2 separate regions of the Homo sapiens genome follow, and region 1 is linked to region 2. Evidence: promoter capture Hi-C in human tissues and cell types (Jung and others, 2019). All regions are on one chromosome and are shown on one strand. The core of a region is centred on a gene start or on the middle of the fragment in contact, and the rest is flanking DNA. Distances in the headings are between cores, read along the strand shown. Region 1 overlaps ARRB1 (arrestin beta 1). Region 2 holds the start of XRRA1 (X-ray radiation resistance associated 1).

What was found. Contacts are between HindIII fragments. The study calls those that stand out against the background at their distance.
Region 1: a fragment that was not itself captured here is called in contact with the fragment with the promoter of XRRA1 in region 2 in 1 of the 25 tissues and cell types used here (dorsolateral prefrontal cortex).

What each region holds. Positions count from the first base shown.
Region 1 is chr11:75,334,585-75,341,187 of GRCh38, forward strand. All of the region lies in intron 1 of ARRB1 (arrestin beta 1), which reads right to left. MIR326 (microRNA 326) reads right to left here and starts at 602; the gene lies at 508-602. RefSeq lists enhancers at 106-640, 641-1,174, 5,937-6,603, 6,164-6,353. The HindIII fragment of the contact is 5,978 bases long and covers 1-4,945 here.
Region 2 is chr11:74,946,257-74,952,626 of GRCh38, forward strand. It overlaps XRRA1 (X-ray radiation resistance associated 1), which reads right to left and starts at 2,835. Exons shown (of 19, transcript NM_001378157.1): 1 at 2,672-2,835. SPCS2 (signal peptidase complex subunit 2) reads left to right here and starts at 3,010. Exons shown (of 5, transcript NM_014752.3): 1 at 3,010-3,143. The coding sequence starts at 3,030. RefSeq lists enhancers at 2,203-3,057, 2,555-2,604, 2,725-2,784, 2,915-3,134, 3,058-3,912 and 1 more. The HindIII fragment of the contact is 13,977 bases long and covers 1-6,370 here.

The sequences.
Region 1 (6,603 bases), core at 707-3,206, 390 kb after region 2:
AGACCAGGCAGTTTCACCTATGGTTCATTATTTTAACCTTTCCAGGAAGGTCTTATCTCCATTTTGCAGAAGAGGAAGATTGAAGTCAGAGAAGCCTTTCCAGTCTCTAATTTACATGGCAAGTGAAGCTGCAGGTTCAGCCTGCCCCAGAACTGGCTCCCCTGGATGCCTTTCAGGTGTTGCTTCTGTAGGGAGGGCTCTAACCTATGACAGATCTCTGCTGTGGGATGAGAGCCCCCTGAGGACATGCAGCAGATGTGGCACCAACATCCTAGCCCAAACGAAAACTTGCCACAGCAGGGCAGAGCTGGGCTTGGGCGCCTAAAGCTTACAGAGCTTGGAAGGTTTTTTTTTTGTTTGTTTGTTTGTTTTAAAAAAAAAAGAGTACAAAAATAATTTCCTTTTGCAAATTTCACAAAACCCCTGAGCACATGGACACATTGCTAGGCCTTGGAAAGGGCCCTGGAGCGTGAAGGGCTGGAAGCTGAAGCTGCATCAGCCTCATGGTGAATCCGCCTCGGGGCTGGAGGAAGGGCCCAGAGGCGATCTGAGCACCACCCGCCTTCACAAAGGCCCTGCCTCCAGCCCAACAGACAGATGAGGCTCCGGAAGACATTCCTTCTTCTTGATGGGAGTCCCGCTGCTACTTAACCCTCCCTGCAGTAGGTCCAAGTCTGTCTGTCTTTCTCTTGCCATGGTTTCAGAAGAAGCAGATCTTGGCCGGACGTGGTAGCTCACACCTGTAATCCCAGCACTTTGGGAGGCTGAGACGGGAGGATTGCTCGAGCCCAGGAGTTCAAGACCAGCCTGGGCAATGTAGCAAAACCACATCTGTACAAAAAATTTAAAAATTAGCCTGGGATGGTGGCGAACACCTGTGGTCCCAGCTACTCAGGAGGCTGAGGAGGAAAGATTGTGTGAGCCCAGGAAGTCAAGGCTATAGTGAGCTATGATCACACTACTGCACTCCAGGCTGGGCAACAGAGCCAGGCCCTGTCCCTGTCTCAAAAAAAAAAGAAGCAGAGCTCAGCTGAGTCTCGGACCTGCCTGCGGAGGTCTGCTGCTCACAAGGGCAGCACTGCCAGATTTCTTTGTGATCCTGGGGCACAACCCCAAGAGGAGCCTTCCATGCCTGGGCTGGAATCCTGGGCCTGGAATCCTGGGCTGGCAAGGGCTGCCCTATTAAGAACCCCATCCTCAAACATTTGTAGGGTATGATACAGTTTACCAAATGTTCCCACATCCCACATCCACATCCCGTTTGGCCCACACGACAGTCCTGGAGGTGAGCAGGGCAAGCTTTATTGTCCCCCTTTTATAGACGGGGACAAAACATGAGACTTGCTGTGCACCTATTGCATACTAAAGATGCCAAGGGGCTTTCCACACGTGACAACTCACAGATACCCTGTGAGAAACCAAGGCTCACTCAGTGTCTGGGGCTGGGCCTGAGAATGAGCCTGCAGCCCTGCTCTCCCATCTCGCAGCCCGTGCCTCTGCCCTGTCTCATCTCAGTCTGGCATGGACAGCTCAGAAGGCAGTGGGCAGGCACGCTGAGACTCAGTAGGTTGAGGAAGAAGAGGCCTCCAGCTACCAAGGCGGAAGAGTAGCTGAGGGCTCAATATATTTAATAGAAATCAAAAAAGTGAGAATCAACCGTGCCCTCTCTGGATGTGTCTGAGGAAGAGCACATGGCCCTTGGGAGCCTGAAACCTGTTTGAAAGCAGTCACCTTACAGACTCAGGGCCTGATGTCCTCCCCACACCCTGCCAAGCTGCAGATGGCCCCACCCCTACCTCCCACTGTCCACATGCTAGGCCTTCCAGACCCTTCTGCTGACTCCTCTCAGCGCCCAAGGCAGCCACCCAGTGCTTGCCCTGGCCTGTTCAAGTCCTACTCCTGTCCTTCACTAATGCTTGCTTAATTCGTGGATATACCTACTCTACGAATCTTTATGAGAAGATACTGTAGGGTGACCCACAGTCCTGATTTGCCCAGGAGTGAGCTGAGGGGTTTCCTGAGATGCGAGACTGAGACTGTCCCAGGAAAATTGGGATGGCTGACGACCCTCATGTACTGCATGCCTGGTCCCTGGGCTGGGTGCCAAGGACACATTTATCTACCAAACATAGTCACTGCCCTCAAGAAACTTCCAGTCGGAGAGTGGCTGCCACTCAATGAGAAACCACTGTCAAAGGCACCTGTTCAGCCCCTCACACACATGATCCATCACCACCCTATGAGGGGAATATTATCACCTCCGTGGTATGCATAAGAAAACTAGGGCTCAGAAAGGTGGCACAATGTGCCCAGAGTCAGAGTTACAAGTGACCTGCTAAGATTTGAACTTGATCCAATGAAACAGAAAAAGGGCAGTTTCCAGCATGAACATTATGGAGATAGAAAAAGATAGACATGTTTTATTTAATTCATTTTGTAGCTCCAGTGTCTGGCATGTTCTAGGTATTCAGGAAATGCGTGAAGGGAGAGAGGGAGATCTAAGCCTTATTTAATTATCTCCAGGCTAGGAGATTCCATCCCTCAATTCAAAAGCCATACATTTCCCTTTTCAAAGTCAGTTTCAGACCAGGCACAGTGGCTCACACCTATAATCCCAACACTATGGGAGGCTGAGGCAGAAGGATCTCTTGAGCCCAGGAGTTTGAGACCAGCCTGAGCAACACAGTGAGACCCCATCTCCACAAAAAATCTTCGAGGCTGCAGTGAGCTATGATCGTGCCACTGCACTCCAGTCTGGATGACACAGCAAGATCCTATCTCAAAGGAAAAACAGAAAAGGAAAAAAAAAGTTTTGACTGTTTTCCTTCAGCACGAGGACCAGGAAGGAAGTAAGAAGAGGGAAAGGGTGCTTTTTCTTTAAGTCAGCAGCTCGGGGCTCACTTCCTCCAGGGAATCTTCCCTGACTCACTCCCTAACCCAAGTCTGGCCCCACACTGTGCCAGGCCCCAGTCAGGAGCTGGGAGTCCAAGAGACAAGAGATACACATTTGCCCTCGAGCAGAGAGGGAACTGACTTGTTAGCAGTCAACTACAATGTAAAGTGCCATCCGGGAAGCCTGCACAGTGCTAAGGGAGCCTGGAAGAGGCCATTCACTCTACCTGGGCAGGGAGCAGTCAAGGGAGGGCTTCATGTCTACAGCAGGTGCCCTGTGCAGTTGTTCAATGAATTTCATTGAAATGTCTTTTTTTTTTTTTTTTTTTTTTTTTTTTTTTGAGACGGAGATTCACTCCTGTTGCCCAGGCTGGAGTGCAATGGTGCTCAAGTGATCCGCCTGCCTCGGCCTCCCAAAGTGCTGGGATTAAGGGTGTGAGCCACCGCACCCAGGCTAAAATGTTTTTAAGTTCAACCTGAAAATATAAGGAATATTTCACCAGAGGAAGAAGGGCATTCCAGCTAAAGAGATCGGCTTGAGCAAAGGCACAGAGGCGTGAAAAGTACAAAGACTGTTGAGGAAGATCCAAAAAAGTCAATGCAGCCAGGTTGTTAGCAGTGTGGTGGGGACAGCTGGGAAAGGAGTGTGGAAGGGACATTAGAGACAGATCCTGAAGGGCCTCCAGTGCCACCTAGAGAATGGGGACTTTCCCATAGGACATGGGGAGCAGTGGATCAGGCCTTAGGCTGGGAAGAATGACCAGATGTGAATTTCAGAATAACAGGATGGCTTGGAGGGTTGGGACTGAGCAGAAAGACAGCAACTAGAAGACAATTGTAATGATCCAGGCCAGGAGTGGGGCTTGACCTGAGCCAGTGGCGGTAGAATGAGGAGAACAGTACTTTGGGAGCCATGTCTCTATCACCATTCAGTTTGGATCCCCTGAACTGGGGCTGCCCACAGGAAGGCATGGTTTTCTCTTCTCCAGGGAGCTCAGCACACCCCCATCCAGGTCTACACTCAAATGGAAGTTGAGGCCAGAGCCTCAGTGTACAGAAACTCAGGTCTTTCTGTACACTGGGTCAGGGCTCAGTGTGGGGCCAGGTCATGGTTCTTTGAAAGTTCTCCCTACTACAAAGTTTACTCTGCAAATGGTGAACATCAGAGGTGGCTGAATTGTTTCAAGTATGCACAGTGAATCACTGCTGTACTGAATCGCTGCTGTGGAACAGTCAGCGCAGGGAGAAACGACAACGCATATTAATCACTTGATTATGATGTGTAATCATTTTTGTCATTTTTAGAATGTCAAAAAAATCTGTTGCAAAAAAAAATCTCCTTATTGAGTTTTAAAACGTCTGTAGGTTTCTCCCAGTACCCTGGGGCAATAGAGACCCATCATAACATCAACCAGTGATGAGCCCTGCTAATGTGCTGGGTGCTTTAATTAGCACAGCTGTAACCGAGAAAGGATGAACACATTATCTCCAGAGGCTGGAAAACTTGCCTACAGACATGCAATTACTGGTAAAGGGGAGGGGAGAACCCCAGCCTGCTGCCTCCTCTCCACCACTCCACGTGGCCTCAGTGTGCCCAAAGATAGCCCTCCAATCTGTAGAGACCAGCGCACATGGCCCCTGGCTGCCAGCCCCAAAGCCTGGAGCTGTTTCTCCTAAGACATAGTTTCTCAACTGTCTCATGCCCATGGGCTCCTCTGGGAAGAGCCATCAGATCTCTGCAGTGTCTCCTGGGCTAGAGGGAAGCTTTCCTCTCCATACCCTCAGGACAGTAGACCCTGGTTTCCAATGGCAGGTTTGCTGAGCCCAGTGTCTCCTGATATACCCACCCCATTTTCTTTCTCCAGGCAGAAACACTTACTGTGATGCCCTGTGGCAGAACTTTCACTTTTCACCCTAGTTTTTTTGTCCTCAAGCAGTCTGCATTCCCAAGACACTCCTTACTGACAGCAGATGAAACCAGTGCCTGACACTATGCCGGCACATAGTAGGTTTCTCAAGTCTGCTGAAGGAAGTCAGTCCTGGATGAAAACACATGTCACAGAGATACTGCCAGGAAGAGTACTACCTCTGGCTCACACAAACGCACTTTCCAACCAGGTCGTGAGTCCCTACTTCTGGGGAGCTGCCTCTGATCCTTAACCTCTGGCCCTGTTTTGTCCCTGCTATAAACAGATGCCCACTACCCCTCTTCTGGCAGCTGTTGAGATCATCTATTTCCTCTCTCCCAATACATCTGAGCAGCATGAGGGCAGAGACTTGTCTGGGTCCTCTTCATATTTCAGGTGCCCAGCACAGGGCCCGGGGTGTGGCACAGAGAGAAAGCTTTGTTCCTTGGAACCTCCTCAGGAGGGCAGCGATGGCCTAACAGAAACGATATAAGCTAACCCTGAAAACTCCTAGCCCGAGGCCCGGGGAGATAGTGTTCCATGTCATGAGGTTTCTTGCCACCCAGAACCTGGGAAGGCCAGGCCCTCAACTTCGGAGAAAGGGCAGCCTCAGGCGGGAGGCAGAGCAGAGCTGCTCCATAAATCCCCTTCCCACTCGGAGAGAGACACACCACTGGGACAGGCCCGGCCACTTCGGGACATGCCTTGAGTGGAGGGAGAAATGTTTGTGGAATTGAATGGAACAAACTGTAAAATGCTAGCTATTTGTTCCTCTGGCTGCAGAGGCCAGTTGCCCTCTGGGGGCAGTTTGCAGGCAAATTATCTCAGGACGAGGCCTGTTTCCTCTAATGAGGCTTCCCCGCTTTGCAGCTCTGCTCCCAAGAGAGTTGGAGGGGACAATGCTCAGAGCCAACCCCAGAGGCCTGCACTGAGGAAGCATACATGGCTCACCATTCTACACAGTGTGGGCGGCACTACCACTATCCAAGGCAGGGGGATGCTCCCCACGACCTTCTGGGTGCAGGAATTCTGAGCAATGCAGCACCTCCTCCAAGGCCCCTCTGGGGAAACAGGGAGGAAAGGAGCAGGGAGGCATGCTCAGTTATGTAACCAGCTGCCTTGGAGTCAGAGTCCCTGGCATATCTCAGCCCAGCACTACGAGGAGAGGCTGTGGGGGCTGGGGGTCTTTCTTCTCTTTTGCTGCCTCCTCCAGACCTGGCAGACCCTGTAGCAGGCGCTGCTTTCCAAGTGCCTGAGCTCCAAGCAGGCACCTCCTACTTGGGGTTGGGAACCAGGAAAGCTGTTGTTTTCTGAGTGTGTGAAACAGTGGCCTGCTGGCTCCCTTGGCAGAAAGCCAGGCTCGGGGCTCTGCACAGGGGTGAGGGTTAAGAAAGAGGAGCCTGGGGCCAGGATGCCAAGGGACTTCCCTCCACAACCGCCCCCAGCTTCCTGCTCCCCAATCTCTCCCCACTTCCTCCTAGAGAATCTGCCGTGGGTGAGGGGCCAGAGGGGAGTGGCGCCAGCAGCCCCAGCACCACACTGCTGCTGCTGGCCCTGGGCAATCTCACTTCCCTTCCTGCCTTCCTTGGAGCTTCTCCGCTGGCCGGCACAGCCCCCACTCCCTGTGCCCCCACCCCCGCGCACTCAGCTGTGTACACTACCCTGGACCATGGAAAAGAGGGATGAAAGAGGAGGAAGGGGACATGGGAGAGGGAAGGAGCTGAGATCCACCCTCAGTCTTGAATGATGATGGCTTTTTTGTTGTTGTTGTTGAGACAGAGTCTCACTCTGTCACTCAGGCTGG
Region 2 (6,370 bases), core at 1,585-4,084:
TTAATGGAGGCACTAACATGGTTAGGCTTTGTGTCCCCACCCAAATCTCATCTTGAATTGTAATCCCCATAATCCCCATGTGTTGAGAGAGAGACCTAGTAGGAAGTGATTGGATCAAGGAGGTGGTCCCCCATGCTGTCCTCACCATAGTGAGTGAGCTCTCACGAGATCTGATGGTTTTATAACTGACAGTTCCTCCTTCACACTCTTGCCCTCTCTTGCCTGTTGCCATGTAAGACTTGCCTCTTCCCTTTCCGCCATGATTGTAAATTTCCTGAGGCCTCCCCAGCCATGCAGAACCGTGAGTCAATTAAACCTCTTTCCTTTATAAATTACCCAGTCTTGAGCAGTTCTTTATAGCAGTGTGAAAATGGACTAATACAGGCACTATACCACACTGTATTATAATGCCTGCTTCCTTGTTTGTTCCCCACCTCACTACAGGCTGTGAGTATCTCCAAGGTCAGGTCAGGCCTGGGTCCTACTTACCTCTTTTTCTTTTTTTTTTTTTTTGAGACGGAGTCTTGCTCTGTCACCCAGGCTGGAGTGCAGTGTCGCTATCTCAGCTCACTGCAAGCTCCGCCTCCCGGGCTCACGCCATTCTCCTGCCTCAGCCTCCCTAGAAGCTGGGACTACAGGCGCCCGCCACCATGCCTGGGTAATTTTTTGTATTTTTAGTAGAGACGGGGTTTCAACATGTTAGCCATGATGGTCTTGATCTCCTGACCTCGTGATCCGCCCGCCTCGGCCTCCCAAAGTGCTGGGATTACAGGCGTGAGCCTGTACTTATCTCTTTATCCTGCATCTCACACAGGACCTGGCCTACTGAAGGAAGAGTCTCAATGATTGTTAATTGAACTAACCCAACCCATGAACAAAATGCCACAGGAGCACTTCATGCAGTGGGTGAAGAAAGAAGAAGCAAGTATCAGAAATAGTTTCACAGGGTAGGTGACATTAAAGCTGGATCTTGAAAGATGAGAAGTTGGCCTGGTGTGGTGGTTCATGCCTGTAATCCCAGCACTTTGGGAGGCCGAAGCAGACGGATCACTTGAGGTCATGAGTTCAAGACTAGGCTGTCCAACACGGCGAAATCCTGTCTCTACTAAAAATATAAAAATTAGCCAGGTGTGGTGGCATGTGCCTGTAGTCCCAGCTACAAAGACTACAGCTTGGGAGGCTGAGGCACAAGAACTGCTTGAACCCAGGAGGCAGAGGTTGCAGTGAGCCAAGATCCCACCACTGCACTCCAGCCTGGGTGACAGAGTGAGACTCTGTCTCAAAAAATAAAAAATAAAATAAAAAGTGACTAGGGCAATGCTGTATCATCTCACTTTATTTTAAATAAAAGAAAAATGAGAAGTTGTAAAAGATAAACTGCAACAACAAGCTACAGGGGATCTGACTAGTGTCCACGGATTGCTTCACAGAGGTAATGAAATATCATCTGATGTTATTGCTATTTAGTGATATTTATTTTCTTTTTAGTAATAATTTAGTTATTTAGTGATAATTATTTTCTTTTCTTTCTGATCTCGGCTCACTGCAACCTCCGCCTCCCCGGTTCAAGCAATTCTCCTGCCTCAGCCTCCCAAGTAGCTGGGATTACAGGTGCCCGCTACCACGCCCGGCTCATTTTTGTATTTTTAGTAGAGACGGGGTTTCACCATGTTGGCCAGGCTGGTCTTTAACTCCTGACCTCAGGTGATCCGCCTGCCTTGGCGGGGATTACAACCATGAGCCCCCACGCCCGGCCGAGATAATTATTTTCACATGAATTTTGGCTTCCCCAAGACAAGTTTTTGTCTGTTTTATTCAGGGATATATCCCTGGTGACTAGAATAGTGCCTGTTACATAGTAAGAAACTCAAAAATATTTGTTTAATTCTTTAGACGCTTATGGGGGATATATAGGAATTAAAAAACAATACAACGTAATAGAGCATGGTATAATACAATACTGCTATTTGATAACTCTGTCATGGAGTAGTAGTTCCACCAGAGTAGCAACCAGGTCTATCTTGATCCCCTGTATCCGTTAGTACAATATTGGTGCTCAATATACATTTGTGAAAAAAATTAATTAAAATACAACGTAATAGAGCATGGTATAATACAATACTGCTATTTGATAACTCTGTCATGGAGTAGTAGTCCACCAGAGTAGCAACCAGGTCTATCTTGATCCCCTGTATCCGTTAGTACAATATTGGTGCTCAATATACATTTGTGAAAAAAATAATTAAAATCTAGAATACTATTACATCCTAAAACCGTAAAAGCAGAGTGTCAGAAGGGATATATATTGGTTTTGATTTTTTTTAAATGCCGGCTTGAAAACCGAGTTCAGATACATGCTATCTGGCTTTGGGTAGGTTCTTTAGTTTCCTCCTCATCTAACAGGGCTGTTGTGGGACTCAGTGAGAGAGAGGATGGCTGGAAGTGCACATAGGATACTGCCTGGCAGACTGTAGGCACTCAGTAAACGCGAGTTCTCCGTTAACACGAAAACATTACAAACAGCTAAAATGACAGCTGCTTGAGAGAATAATCGGTAAGTGCCACAACCGGGCTAGAAAAGGATGAAGGACAAGCTCCTGCCCACTCCTTTGGAAACTCCACACCTGGGCCGGAGAAAGACTCGAATTCGAAAACTAAGTTTCAGTCGCACCTGCCTCCGGCGTCGCTTCAGCCTCCGAGGGGTCTGCGGAGGCGACGTCCCAGTCAGGAGGGATGCGCGCCTGCGAGCCCCCCGGGGATCTCGGAGCCGCTCCACTGCGGTGCCTGCCGCTATCTTCCCCACGCCTTAGTAACTGCGACGCGACGGCAGACAGTGTAGGCGGCAACCGACGGCCGGGACGTCTAACCTCAAGTCCCAGCAAGCCCCGCGGCCACGTCCTCTGACTACCTCGCGCCAGCAAGACCCAAACTACGGATCCCGATTGACTCCGCGCGGCGCGTCACGCTGTCAGCTCCAGCCAATCGGCTTCAGACAAGTCGGAGGGGAGGGAGACGCAGAGGCGGACAAGATGGCGGCGGCAGCTGTACAGGGCGGGAGAAGCGGTGGTAGCGGAGGCTGTAGTGGGGCTGGTGGTGCTTCCAACTGCGGGACAGGAAGTGGCCGTAGCGGCTTGTTGGATAAGGTGAGGAGCCGGTTCTTGGGAACAGTTGAATCCTGGGGAGGCCTGGGAGGCGGCGAGCCAACCTTCCCATCCCGGTCTCCCTTATTTTCTACGGCCTTTTGAGGGGAGCCCTTGTGTGACCACTATCACAACCCTACGCACGCTTGGAGCCTGCCCTTGCCCTCATCACACTTCAAACCTGGACCCGGTCCTCTTTAGAACTTCTTCTTTTCTCGCAAGTGTTCTGGTCCTGGTCGCCACACCTTTTTCGGTAATTTGATTTTTCCTATATTTAATCGTGTCCATCTCTTTTCTCCTGGGGGGCTGGGTGCACTGTTGTCAGTGCCCATTTCACAGACACGGAAAACCGAAGCCCAAAGATTAAAGAATCAGTATCCCCCAAACTCTCTACCACCATCACCCTTGCGTGCTGCTACAGATTCCAAAGTGCTTCTTGTCCTTTTGCTTACTGAAGTTTTTAGGCGTTTTATCATGATAGGCGAATACTGAAAATATTTGAGTATTGACTGTTCTACTGGGCTGACAAGAAGCCTTTAAGATTTTTCTTTTTTTCCTGTTGTTTTTCCCCGCCCTCTCCTCTCTTCCCTCCACCTCCCTCTTTGCTACCAAGTGCACTGCTGCCCGCTCACGCTTGCCCCTTTCCTCCCTCTGCTCATCCAAAAAAATTTTTTTTAACTGCAGTCCTAGCAACAAGGGTTTAAAAGAAAAGAAAAAAAGGAAAACTGTCCCTGGGTTGGCCTTTCTTGCTCTTTGCACAGCATCTTGGAAGAAACAGTTGCACGGAGAACAACGTCCTGGTGTTGATTTTGCCTCTAATTAGCTTTGTGACCTTGAAATATGCTTGCTCTCTCTATATCTGTTTTCTCATCTGCAAAGTGAGAGATTTAGCCTTAAAATGAGGGACTTAACTCTAAATTCCCTTCCAGTTCTCTCATTGTAGGGCCCTGGGCTGGTTTGATGAGAATTGTTAAGCATGGTGTCTTTAATATAGTAAGCAGAATTTTTGAATATAATTGAAAACAGCTTTCAGACTTCCCTGTGCATAACACATGGTAGGTGCTTAAGAAATGAAAACATGATTATGTTGAGGGGTTAAGATCCAGGTCTTTTTACTTGTCTTTTTGAGTGTCATTGGTTTTGAAAGACATGGTTCTCACACTCTTCTCTTGTGAGAGGGGTCACGCTCCATTGCCCAGAATGGATCTTAGCTCACTGCGGCCTTGAACTCTTAAGCTTAGGTGATCTTCCCACCCCAGCTTCCTGAGTAGCTGGGACTGCAAATGTGCACCACTATGCCTGACTAATTTTTTTGCTTTTAACTTTTCTGTAGAGTCAGGGTCTTACTGTGTTGCCCTGGCTGGTCTCAAATTCCTGGGCCTCAAGAGATCCTCCCACCTTGGCTCCCCAAAGTGCTGGGATTACAGGCATAAGTCACCATGCACCTGGCCTCACACTCAAACCTTAAGATACAGAAACATATTCTGGAGGTTGGGATGGTAAATTGCTTCAAGACATGTGAGAGTATGGGGAATTGATGGTCATTTGTGTACACAAATCCTTCCCTCTTGCTAGGTAAGCACCTCATAGCCTGTGCTTACCTGCCCCACTAACTGCTCTTGCTCTTCCTTGCACTTGGATCATCATCAGCAAACATTAAGTATGGGCATTCTGCTAAGGCAGTATAGAATACTATTATTATGGAATAGTGTATATGGCACCATTGTGTTATTGAAAGAACCCGGATGTGGGGATCATAAGATTTCAGCTTTGAAGTATTTCTGCTACTTGCTAACAGTATGAAGATTGGCAAGTCACTTAACCTTTCTTCATTTGGAATTTTGGAATCTCTGGCACCTAGATCACAGGGTTTTGGGAAGAACCAAGTAAGACAGTACACATTAATGATCTCCATTACCTGTAGTGTCCAGTACAGATGTGTGATGGTGGAGGAGTAAATCAAGAATCCTACTGTCAGAGAGCACTCAGAATAGCCAAATATAGGAGATGGGGTAATTGAATCTATTTAAGGAAGTATATGGTATATTCGCTCAAGTGTGTACTTGTTACGGAAGTTCAAATGAGAGAAATAGAGTGAACCCTGCGAGCTTATTGATAAGAGTAAGAGCCTCGGCCGGGCGCAGTGGCTCACACCTGTAAACCCAGCACTTTGAGAGGCCAAGGCAGGCGGATCACCTGAGGTCGGAAGTTCAAGACCAGCCAGACCAAGATGGAGAAACCCCATCTCTACTAAAAATACAAAATTAGCGAAGTGTGGTGGTGCATGCCTGTAATCCCACCTACTCGGGAGGCTGAGGCAGGAGAATCGCTTGAACCCGGGAGGTGGAGGTTGCAGTGAGCCGAGATCACGCCATTGCAGTCCAGCCTGGGCAACAAGAGGGAAACTCTGTCTCAAAAAAAAAAAAAAAAAAAGAGTAAGAGCCTGAAGGAAAGGCCTCATTCCTGAAAGTGGAACTGGCACCTTATTTGGGGGGAGAAAAGAAAGACATGCCAGGTAAAAAAGTCTCCTTGAGTAAAGTTACACAGATGTGATGGTGTTTTATGTTTCTCAGGTATTGAGTTGACTAGAAGGCTCTCTAAAGGAACTGTAGTGACAAGTAGATAGCATCTGATTAGGGAGGCCGTGGATTGCTTGAAGTAGAGGAAAGCTGTTGAAGGGTTTTGAGACTGTGTAAAGTGGTTTTTAGGAAAACTATTCAGATGGTTTGGAGAGACAGAAATTAGAAGACTTCTTAATAAGGCCGTATACACAGTAGTGTATAATATATAATAAAAAGAGACAAATTTGAGTTCTAGTGCCGCATGTTATTAGGTTGGTGCAAAAGTAATTGCTGTTTTTGCCATTGAAAGTAATGGCAAAAACCACGATAACTTTTGCACCTACCTAATAAAAGCCACATGACCTTGGATAAGTTGTGTGATATTACTGAATTTAAATTTCCTTATGTAAATATTGTGGACATTCATACATATTATAGGCTTGTTGTAAGGATCAAATTGTATAGTGCTGGTAAATGTTCTTTGGGTTTTTTAGTTTGGTTTCCTCTGCCCTTTTTATTTTATTTTTATTTTTATTTTTGGTAGAGACAAGGTCTCACTGTGTTGCCCAGACTAATCGTGAACTCCTGGCCTCAAGTGATCTGCCCACCTCAGCCTCCCAAAGTACTGGAATTACAGGCATGAGCCACCGCACCCAGCTCTGTTCCCTG